4 separate regions of the Homo sapiens genome follow, and regions 2, 3 and 4 are each linked to region 1. Evidence: promoter capture Hi-C in 16 types of primary human blood cells and fetal thymus (Javierre and others, 2016). All regions are on one chromosome and are shown on one strand. Each heading gives the region's core, a stretch centred on a gene start or on the middle of the fragment in contact. The rest is flanking DNA. Distances are from core to core; before and after follow the strand shown. Region 1 holds the start of GDF6 (growth differentiation factor 6). Region 2 has its middle 280 kb from the start of GDF6. Region 3 has its middle 260 kb from the start of GDF6. Region 4 has its middle 320 kb from the start of GDF6.

Evidence for each region. Contacts are between HindIII fragments. The CHiCAGO score rates a contact against its expected background, and 5 or more counts as called.
Region 2: a fragment that was not itself captured here is called in contact with the fragment with the promoter of GDF6 in region 1 in 13 of 17 cell types (M1 macrophages, M2 macrophages, fetal thymus and 10 more); the score reaches 10.0 in M1 macrophages.
Region 3: a fragment that was not itself captured here is called in contact with the fragment with the promoter of GDF6 in region 1 in 1 of 17 cell types (M1 macrophages); the score reaches 6.2 in M1 macrophages.
Region 4: a contact is called between a fragment that was not itself captured here and the fragment with the promoter of GDF6 in region 1, in 1 of 17 cell types (M2 macrophages). The highest score is 5.5, in M2 macrophages.

What each region holds. Positions count from the first base shown.
Region 1 is chr8:96,159,549-96,162,248 of GRCh38, reverse strand. GDF6 (growth differentiation factor 6) reads left to right here and starts at 1,443. Exons shown (of 2, transcript NM_001001557.4): 1 at 1,443-1,962. The coding sequence starts at 1,557. The HindIII fragment of the contact is 9,891 bases long and covers 1-2,700 here.
Region 2 is chr8:95,882,241-95,884,940 of GRCh38, reverse strand. No RefSeq gene overlaps it. Among named protein-coding and RNA genes, the nearest start is that of GDF6, 280 kb to the left of the region's middle. The HindIII fragment of the contact is 5,770 bases long and covers 1-2,700 here.
Region 3 is chr8:95,899,276-95,901,984 of GRCh38, reverse strand. No RefSeq gene overlaps it. Among named protein-coding and RNA genes, the nearest start is that of GDF6, 260 kb to the left of the region's middle. The HindIII fragment of the contact is 541 bases long and covers 1,127-1,667 here.
Region 4 is chr8:95,844,364-95,847,063 of GRCh38, reverse strand. No RefSeq gene overlaps it. Among named protein-coding and RNA genes, the nearest start is that of GDF6, 320 kb to the left of the region's middle. The HindIII fragment of the contact is 1,159 bases long and covers 722-1,880 here.

The DNA of each region.
Region 1 (2,700 bases), core at 194-2,693:
GGGAGCCTGGGTTCTGTCCCTTGCTGCATAACCTCTTGGCAGAGTGGCCTTGGAAAAGTCACTTATTTCCATTGAGTCTTTTTTTTTTCCATCCGTGAAGGTGAAAATAGTCAACGCCAACCTCACAAAGCTGTTGGCACGATTAAAGGAGGGTACTTTATGGTTGGTGCCTGAGCACCCAATCAGTACTGAGGGAAACTCTTCTGCCCATAGCAGTCCAGGGCAGAGCACTGTGGCAGACAGAAGCAGCGCTACGCCGCATCGCCTTTCAGCGTGCAGGCCCAGGAATGAGCGAGGCAGTGGGCGGGGAAGACAGGCACGGGGAATCTGGGGACAGATAAAGGAAACTCGTGATGGGGCGAGGCTGGGCTGAAGAGAAACAGATTGGGGTAGAGCTGCAAAGGGAGGGGTCCACTGGAAGGCGAGGGGGGAGGCCGGGAAGAGAGAGGGTGGGAAGGCAGTGTGAGATGGGAGGGCAGTGTGAGAAGAAAAGCAGGCTGGGGAAGAGGGATTGGAATGCAGAAGGAACTTGGGGAAGGAGGAAGTCCTGCAGGCGGGAGGGAAAGAAGAGAGGGAAAATGGGGATGCAGTGGAGGCGGGGGGCAGGCCGCGAGAGGGAGAGGATCCCGGGAGCAGACGAAGAAGTGGAGCAGCTAAAGTCTGCGTCAGAAGAGGTTGGGGACTGCGAGAGGAGAGGCTGGGGCCTGCAGGGGAGCGCAGCAGCTTTTAGCATCGATCCAAACTCTAAAGACTCGTGGCCTTTGCCTGACCTCGAGGGTCGGGAATAGACGCCTGTCTTTGTGGAGAGCGATACCCAACCGAGAAAATGGGGCTGTTCCGAGCTGGGCCCTGCGCCTGGCCCAGGGCGAGGCTTCTCTGGCTCCGGGCTGGCCCCTGAGGGGCGCAAACGGCAGGCCTGGCGGTTGGGGCCGAGGAGGGAGGGTACCACCGCCCCGAGGCAGCACGCAGCCTGCAGCAGAGGCGCCTGCTCCAAGCTGTCTCTTGGGGGCGCCGCCGCCGCTTCCCTCCTCCGGGGCCGCTCGCTCCCAGGAAAGTGGAGGCGGCTGGCGAGGACCGAGAGCCGGGGCCGCGCTGCGGAGGGACCACACCTCCGGGAGTTCGAGGGGGACCCTGGCGCGGCGGGCCAGCCTTTGCTCCCCGGCCACGGGCCGGCAGCGCCCGCCTTCCCCCGGTCAGCGCTTGCGGCCCGCGCCGCGCGCACCGCCCGGCAACCCCGCGCGCGTCCCGCGGGGGCGCTGCGTCTTCCTGCCACACCGGCGCACCGCGGCCCCTCTCCCCCACACCTCCGGCCCGCACCACCCGGCTCTCCTCCCACCCTCCCCACCCCTCCTCTGCCCTCCCTCCCCATTCCTCCCCTCCCGGCGAGGGGCGGGAGGGGGCGTGGCGGGGCCGGGGTTTGTGTGGCTGGGACCCGGCTCCTCGCACTCCGAGTCCGCCCGAGGAGCCGGGCCCCGGCCGCTGTCCAGCCGCTCCGTGCCCCGCGCGTCCTGCGCCGCCGCCACCGCCTCCTGGGGAGACGCAGCCACTTGCCCGCCATGGATACTCCCAGGGTCCTGCTCTCGGCCGTCTTCCTCATCAGTTTTCTGTGGGATTTGCCCGGTTTCCAGCAGGCTTCCATCTCATCCTCCTCGTCGTCCGCCGAGCTGGGTTCCACCAAGGGCATGCGAAGCCGCAAGGAAGGCAAGATGCAGCGGGCGCCGCGCGACAGTGACGCGGGCCGGGAGGGCCAGGAACCACAGCCGCGGCCTCAGGACGAACCCCGGGCTCAGCAGCCCCGGGCGCAGGAGCCGCCAGGCAGGGGTCCGCGCGTGGTGCCCCACGAGTACATGCTGTCAATCTACAGGACTTACTCCATCGCTGAGAAGCTGGGCATCAATGCCAGCTTTTTCCAGTCTTCCAAGTCGGCTAATACGATCACCAGCTTTGTAGACAGGGGACTAGGTAAGTGGCAAAGAAAACGCTCGACTCCCCTCCCGCTGGAGCTCGGCAGCCAGGGAGCTGTTCCCGCTGGAGGCTACATTTGTGAATTCCCTTCCTGCTCTGGACACTTCCTTTTTACTTTTCTTAAATTGTTTTTCTCAAGCTCGAGTAAGTTTCTGAATGTGGCTGCGGATTCTATTCCAGTCTCTAAACCTCCCTTCCTTTCCCCCCCTTTCTTTCTCTCTCCCTTCTTTCCTTCTTCCTCTTTTGCAGAAGGCAGCGTGGTTGCCGCTTGTTGGTGGCTGGTGGGGGAAACGTGGAGGACGGGAGGCAGCAGGCGGATGAACCCGGCTGGAGAGGGGTCGGGATGGGGACTGATGGAATCGGTGTCTCGGGATACTGGGTTCGCAGTCCAAGGCCTGAGCTGCTGGGGCAGATCTAGGGCATGAGACAGCCTTGGAAAGCCCTGGGCAAAGCCGGCACTAGGGAGTCCCACAGTCTGAGGAACTAGTCCGCGAGCGGCGTCGGGCAGCCCCCTGGTCCTGGCGCCGCGCGGGTTTTCCGTTGGTCCCTGCGCTGGGTGGGATGGTCAGCCGGGCTGGAGCCCTGCGCCCTCCGGCTTTTTTGCTCCAGCGTGGTGCTCCCGGCTGCTCCGAGGCCTCAACACGAGTGGTTTCTGCAGATGCGGCGGCAGCAGTTGGGCGGGCCGGGACAGGGACGGCTAAGTTCGGAGGTTGTGGGTACTTAATACACAAAGGT
Region 2 (2,700 bases), core at 161-2,660, 280 kb after region 1:
ACTTCCCCTGGCCAGCTGCTGATCTTCTACAAATGTGCCCCATTTTGGCCACAGTACAGGTGTTTTGTTGCTTCCTTAGTTGACTGTCTTAGTTGCTTCCCCAAGCTGCTTCCCTAGTTGACTGAGGAAGCCGACACTACTGTCCTCAGGGAATGACCTAGGGTGGATAGTACACCATGATCTGGAAAAGATGAGAATGGATACTCAGTTTACACCAAACTTAGATTTTCATTGATCCCATGTAGCAATGAAATTCACATATTTATTCAGCTCTTGCTATTAGCAAGACACTCTCCTAGGATCTGTGGGAAAGATATAAAGAGGAATGGATCATGCCCCCGCTCTCAAAGACTCATTCTACTGTAGGGTAGACAGACATATTTCCCACTCTGTAGAATATAACTATAATAAAAACATATTGTTGTAAGTGCTATAATAGAGGTGTGACATGCCACATGTAGTGGGACAGTTGGGAAGCAGAAAAAAATTATTCCCACTGGGGGCATGTGGGAGGACCTTACAAAGATCCTACCATCTTTCTCTCTGTAAGAGAGAAAGTGGCATTTGCACAGGACCTTCAAAGATAGTAGGAATTTAGTGGAGAGATGAGCATTCAGTGAACGCAACAGAGCACATGGCTTGTTAGAAATCACAATTAATTTGGTATATTTGAAACAGATGAAACTTTCAGGGGGAGCCATAACAAAGATTTTAAAAAAGGGGCATTTAGAGTTGATCACAGAGGACATGAGTACGCAGATGAGGAATTTGTGTTTTATCCCATATGTAGTAGCAAACTGAAGACATTTGAGCAGGGGATTTATATGTTCAGCTCTTTTCTTTAGAAAGAGTTTTGTCAGTAGCCTTTAAGATGGAATGGAGAGATGGGAGGCTAGAAAACCAGGTAGGGAACTTTGGAATCAATGGCTGAAGTTTTGTCTTCTTTTTTAGAGACAGAATGAAGCTGAAAGGTCACCCCCATGTCTGAGGCTGGCAGTATAGCATAGCAGAAAAGAGCAGGGGAAAGCTACACCCATGCCCAAGTCCTTATCTGCCACTTGGTACCCATTTGATTTTGAGCAAGTTACTTTTTATACCTCAGTTTTCTCATCTGTAAAACATTGCTAATAAATGGAATATTCCTTACAAGGATGTTGACAGGAGTTTTAAGTGTGTTATCTAAAAAGCACTTAAGATAGCATTAAAGCTGATAATTAAACTTTCAGGAATTTCACAAGGTGGTAGACATCATGTTGGTAGATGGAAATAAGCAATAATGTAAGTATTTACACCATGGAAGCTGGAAAATGCTATAAATCAAAGAGAAAAGAAAAGGAAAGAAAGTGAGAAACAGAAAACCCACATAGGACTGAGCTCTGAGACTACCTCAAATTTCAAAACCAGCATCTCAAGCAACTTTGAGTTCTTTGAGTGGTACTAAACATTTGATGGAAAGAACAAGGTCTTAAAAATTAGATATTGCTCAAAGATCAGAGAGTTGTAGATGTGTGGTATTATTTCTGAGGGCTCTGTTCTGTTCCATTGGTCTATATCTCTGTTTTGGTACCAGTACCATGCTGTTTTGGTTACTGTAGCCTTGTAGTATAGTTTGAAGTCAGGCAGCCTGATGCCTCCAGCTTTGTTCTTTTTGCTTAGGATTGACTTGGCAATGTAGGCTCTTTTTTGGTTCCATATGAAACCTGACAAAAACAAGAAATGGGGAAAGGATTCCCTATTTAACAAATGGTGCTGGGAAAACTGGCTAGCCATATGTAGAAAGCTGAAACTGGATCCCTTCCTTACACCTTATACAAAAATTAATTCAAGATGGATTAAAGACTTAAATGTTAGACCTAAAACCATAAAAACCCTAGAAGAAAACCTAGGCAATACCATTCAGGACATAGGCATGGGCAAGGACTTCATGTCTAAAACACCAAAGGCAACGGCAACAAAAGCCAAAATTGACAGATGGGATCTAATTAAACTAAAGAGCTTCTGCACAGCAAAAGAAACTACCATCAGGTGAACAGGCAACCTACAGAATGGGAGAAAATTTTTGCAATCTATCCATCTGACAAAGGGCTAATATCCAGAATCTACAAAGAACTCAAACAAATTTACAAGAAAAAACAAACAACCCCATCAAAAAGTGGGCAAAGGATGTGAACAGACACTTCTCAAAAGAAGACATTCATGCAGCCAACAGACACATGAAAAAATGCTCATCATCACTGGCAGTCAGAGAAATGCAAATCAAAACCACAGTGAGATACCATCTCACACCAGTTAGAATGGTGTGAGGAAACAAAGGTGTGAGGAAACAAAGTCAGGAAACAACAGGTGCTGGAGAGGATGTGGAGAAATAGGAACACTTTTACACTGTTGGTGGGACTGTAAACTAGCTCAACCATTGTGGAAGTCAGTGTTGCAATTCCTCAAGGATCTTGTACTAGAAATACCATTTGACCCAGCAATCCCATTACTGGGTATATACCCAAAGGAATATAAATCATGCTGCTATAAAGACACATGCACACATATGTTTACTGCGGCACTACTCACAATAGCAAAGACTTGGAACCAACCCAAATGTCCAACAATGATAGACTGGATTAAGAAAATGTGGCACATATACACCATGGAATACTATGCAGCCATAAAAAATGATGATTTCATGTCCTCTGTAGGGACATGGAT
Region 3 (2,709 bases), core at 148-2,647, 260 kb after region 1:
ATTCATTTTTATGTAAAATTAGTTTTCTAGAAGGAGGCATGATTCAGGCTAGCTTTTTAAATTTCACAGAGCTCCTTCTGTTTTTTGCTTATTGCTTTTTCTTTTTTGTCTTTTTTCTTCTCTTCTTTTCTTTATTTTTCATTCATTCATTCATTCATTCATTTTAGGGGGGTGGGTGTTGTGTTAAAAAATATGATGGCTCACTTTCTGAGATTTCTTGGCACTATTCTTCTCTCCCATTGTTATTTGAATCTTCTCTTGCCTTCATCTCTAGTGACCCTTTTCTGCTCAATTTTGATTCTCCTTCCAACAGGTTTTCCTCAGTGTAAAATTCTGTCCTGGAAGGGAGCCCTGGAAAGTCAGTTTTGAGAGCATGTGGAGTTTAGACTGATCCAACTCCTTTAAATCTCCCTGTGAGCCCCTTGCATTGGTCTACGATTGAACTAGGAAAAACATTCTCCATTTCAGCTGCTGTTCTCAGGTGGGCCTCCTGGTGCTTTGCTCTCACCTGGTTGCATTTGGGAGTTCACAGACCATCTCATCATTCAGTTTTTAATATAAATAGTGTCTGTGGAATTTGCTTTTTCTATCTAGTTGCTTCTGTTTTAAATGTGGGGATTTGGAAAGATTTTTCAAAAATCTGTGATGACATTGTTGTCATCTTCCAAGAATCTCCTTCAGATTTCTTTCTTTTTTCTTTTTTTTTCTTTTTTTGACACAAGATTTAAAAGAGAAGTTTTTTGTTAGTGATGATATTGTTTTGTTTTAAAACTTTTTGTTTTTAACTTTTAGAAGAATTGCCTTTTACCTTCTTGTTTTATTATTAAATTTCTAGATTTGTTATAAGAGTTCTAGTCTTGTTTTTGTATTCAGGAATGGCTTTGGGTGCAAAGATATTCATATCTCTGTTATCTTCATTGTGAAATGTACTCCTTACCATTATAAAGTTCCCTTTTTTGTTTTATTTAAATAATTCTGCAAGTAGATGAAGTTACTTTTTGTTTGCGTTTCCTGCAATATTTTGTTATTATTTTTTATTTAAGCAGAGAATTGTCTTTTAAAAGGATTAAAACTGGGAAGTTTGAAATTTATATTTATGGGAAGTAGAATAGTGACCCCCAAAGCTTTCCAAATCCTAATCCCCAGAACCTGTGATTGTTGCATTACAAGGCAAGAATCAATTAAGTTTGAAGACTGAATTAAGGTTGGTAACCAGCTAACCTCAAAATAGGGAGAGTAGCCTAGATAACTCAGGTGAGCCCAATATAAATCACAAGACCTTTAAATGGGGATGATGAGGGGCAGAAACGTCAGAACCAGAGAGAAGACGTCACGAGAAGGGCTTGATCAGCCATTGAAGATAGAAAAAGACATGAACAAGGAAGCTGGAAGATGCAAGAAAACCATTTCTTTTCTAGGACCTCCAGAAAAGAATGCAGCTCTGTCAACACCTTAATTTTAGCTGAGACTCACTTCAGACTTCTGACCTCCAGAACTGTAAGATAATAAGTTTATGTTATTGTAAGTCAAATTTATGGCAATTTGTTATAGCAGCAATAGGAAACAAGTGCAATATTATTTCTATATTTACCACTTATGGACCTCTTCATTCCTTTGTGTAGATACAAATTTCCATCTGGTGTCCTTGTCCTTCTGCCTGAAAAGCTTCCTTTAACATCTCTTATATTGAGGGTCTGATATCTGAAAAAAATATTTGTGTCACCCTCAATTTTGAAAGATATTTTCATTTGGTACAGAATTCTAGTGAGTGTTTTTTTTTTTAATGCCTTATAGATGTCACTTCCTGCTCCTTTGGTGTGCAAAATTATAATGAGAAGTACAATGTCATTCATGTTTTTGTTTCGTGTACCTAACGTGTCTCTTTCCCCCTCTGGCTGTCTTTAAAATTTCTCTTTATCATTGATTTTGAGCAATCTTACTATGTGCCTTAGTTTCATTTCTGTTATGTTTATTTTATGTGATATTTATTGATCTTTTTGATCCTATAGGTTTATAGTTTTTATAAAATTTAGACCAGTTTTAACTGTTTTTTCAGATTTTTTCAAATTTTTAAAATCTTTTTCTCCTCTTTGAAGAATCCCATTATACCTATATTAGACCACTTGCTATTGTAATAGATATCATGGAGACTCCTACAACTTTTTTCTTTCTCTCTGTGTGTCATTTGTATAGGTTCTGTTGCTATTTGATCAAGTTTATTGATCTTTTCTTCTTCAGTGTCTTAAGATATTAGACAGATATTAATCTCATCCAGTGTATTTTAATTCAGGCACTTTTAATTTCTACATGTTCCATTTTGTTATTTGTAAATGTCTTCTATGTCTCTCCCAATAATGTTAATACTTCCATTCACATTCTCGATAATGGTTTTTTTTTTTTTTTTTTTTTTTTGACGGAGTCTTGCTCTGTTGCCCAGGCTGGAGTGCAAGTGGCGCAATCTCACCTCACTGCAACCTCAACCTCCTGGGTTCAAGCAGTTCTCCTGCCTCAGCCTCCCAAGTAGCTGGGATTACAGGCGCCCACCACCACACCCTGCTAATTTTTGTATTTTTAGTAGAGACAGGGTTTCACCGTGTTGGCCAGGCTGGTCTCAAACTCCTGACCTCCAGATCTGCCCACTGTGGCCTCCCAAGGTGCTGGGATTGTAATCCATGCCCGGCAAGAATGTTTTTAATATTTATAATAGTT
Region 4 (2,700 bases), core at 52-2,551, 320 kb after region 1:
TGAAACGGGATCTGCAATTTGAAGTTATAAATTTGAAGAACATCAAATATGTTGGCTTTGTGTTGGATGTCATCTTGTCTCAATTGGAGAAACAGCCTGAACAAAGAGAGATTAAAATGCAACATTTCATCATGCACCGTATTTTACATTTCCAATCACATAGGCACAGCCTCACAACTCAGCGGACATAATTATCAAGACCCACAGTTCCCTTAGTCCCTGGGATGAGTAAATGATCACCAACTAGGTGAGCATTTTACATCCAGTTTGGATTTTTCTCAGCCTCATGAGCAAAGTACCAGGCATTTGAGTAACCGAGGACGAAAAAGTGGAGGCGTTTCATTTTATTTTATAACCCAGATGAACGTCCTCTCCCCTGCTGATTTCTGATCTTAGAAACTAAATATCTGCTAAGGGGGACAAATTCCAAAAAGGGGAAAATTAAGCTGAGTTTCAGTTAAGTGTGTCCCAGTGGTGAGCATTTAAATCAGAGCTCAAGGAAAAAAAAAAAAAAAGTCTTATAAACCAAGTGGTGAAGCCTCCCCGCCCTGGGCTCTTAGGGTCCAGCCCTACGAGAAAGGGCAGGTCCCTAAGGCAGCTCTCTCTTGCACTGGCTGGATGAACTGCTGTGTCAGCAGCTCCATGCATCATTAGCCGACCTGGAAAAACTCCAGCTGCTTTCCTCTTACACTCTCTCTGTACCTCTCACTTTAAAAAAGCTTTCATCAACATCATCCCAAACATCTTTTGTTTTCCCAGCTGGAGTAGCCTTTCTTTCTGTTTGTATCCCATCTTTAGCCAACTAAGTCTTTTGCCCTTAAGAACGGCAACCATGAATCAAAGGGAATCATCACCTGTAAACTCTAAAGTGAGTCTGAGCGCTTTGGGATTCCCCCTCCCATCTATCTTCTTGGAGCTGCCATATTTAGTTACATTTTCCTGTTCACTGTTGGTGGTCATTATCTCCCTCCTTTTTCCATCCTCTGTATTAGAAACAAAAGTATGAAGATCCTCCCAGCAATATTTTCTTCTGAGATTTAGCTCCAATACAACATAATCCTCTCTTTGCTTGGTGGGTTTCCCAATTCCTCTGTCAGGCAGGGGTGAGCTACGTGTCTGGTCTTTGGCTGGAGTTATTTACTACATAAAATGATCTCTTCTTCCAGGGTTTCCCCCAAATTCCTCTGCAAATGGTTTTACAATAAATCCAGGAAAGAAAATCAGACCTTTTTTTTCATTTGTTTTTTAAAGAACTGACACCTATTCCTTGCCTACAAAGCCTCACACATAATTTTTGGCTTTTACTGTCTTCAGTACTTTAATGATCATCATACAAAACTGGATCGAACATTTAAAAGTCATCTTTTCATCCTGCTGTCTCCAGAGAAGAATCTCTGCTTTGATTTTAAACATTGTAAAAGCACAAAATTCTGCTGTTTCACTCAGGAATTCTGGTACCTCAGGAATACTTCTTTATAATTGTTTCTTATGCCCATTTCTTGCTATTTTAGATTATGGAAGAAATGGTGAACAGTCTATCATTATTTTCTGGGTGACACAACTTGAAATGATGAAAATATTTTCTAGGTGAGCTGCTTCCAAGCTGGGGGTTGCTGAACTTTCACCACAGCTCAATCAATTCAGCTAGCCTTTAATACCATGCCCCATGTATTGTCTGTCACTTGCTTCATCTTTTTGAATTTGGAAAATCCAATACCCAGATCACAAGATGAAAAAATCCAGGGAATTGAGAACAGTTCAAGTACATACAAAAGTATTAATTTACAATTTGTTGCTTACTAAAAGATTTTAATTGTTCCATGTAAGTAGATCCGGTCTCTTGGATGAGGTTGAAAATCCTCCCTGGCCCATGTAAAGCTTTCTGGATTTTTATTCTCAAAGTGTCAACTGGTTACTTTCAAAAGCTAAGTTCATCATGTCAAGCTAAAAGTATTGACTGATTATGTGAGAGAGACCTCTGTTACCCTTCTAGATAATTCCTGAGTGACAGAAAGGGGAATGGAAAAGGAAAGAAAGTGAAGGAAATGGGTACCCTTGGAAGGTGGGGCTTTTGTGCCAGTCAATAAACTTAAGGAAAAACTGTTAACATGGCAATGACCATACCTTGAACTTCAAGTACCTGAGCCTAGTAAACATGTAGCTTTCACACAAACTAGAAAACTAAAGCCCGAAGAGGTGGTGTTATTAGACAAAACCGTATACCTAGGAACTGGTAAGACTCAACTCTCTTGGACTATTTGCTAAAATATTGACATATTTCTGTGTGGTTAGTAAATAACTATTTCCTTGATCCCCAAGTAACCCCTGCTGCCCTAATTCTTCCAGCGTTCACCCAGCAGGCCTTATTCATTATCCTGCAACTGAAGGTCAGCCCTAGACACAGCAGGAAGCCTCCCGCACCCTGCTGTAGCTCAATGGCTGGTATTCCTACCAATTTGTCAGGACCTGTAACATCTCAGTTAAATATTGAAACATGGTTCCCATTCTTAATTGTGAAACTTGGCTCCATCTGCTGTGCTGGCATGTGACCACAGCCTCCAGTGACCTCTACCTGGGGAGTCTGAGAATCTCAGAATCTGGGAATCCTTGATCTTTGTATTGTGTTTGTTTTTGTTTGTTTGTTTTTAAGGGCCCAGCCATTTTTGGATACACAAACTGCTTTTACAAAACTCTGGTCTT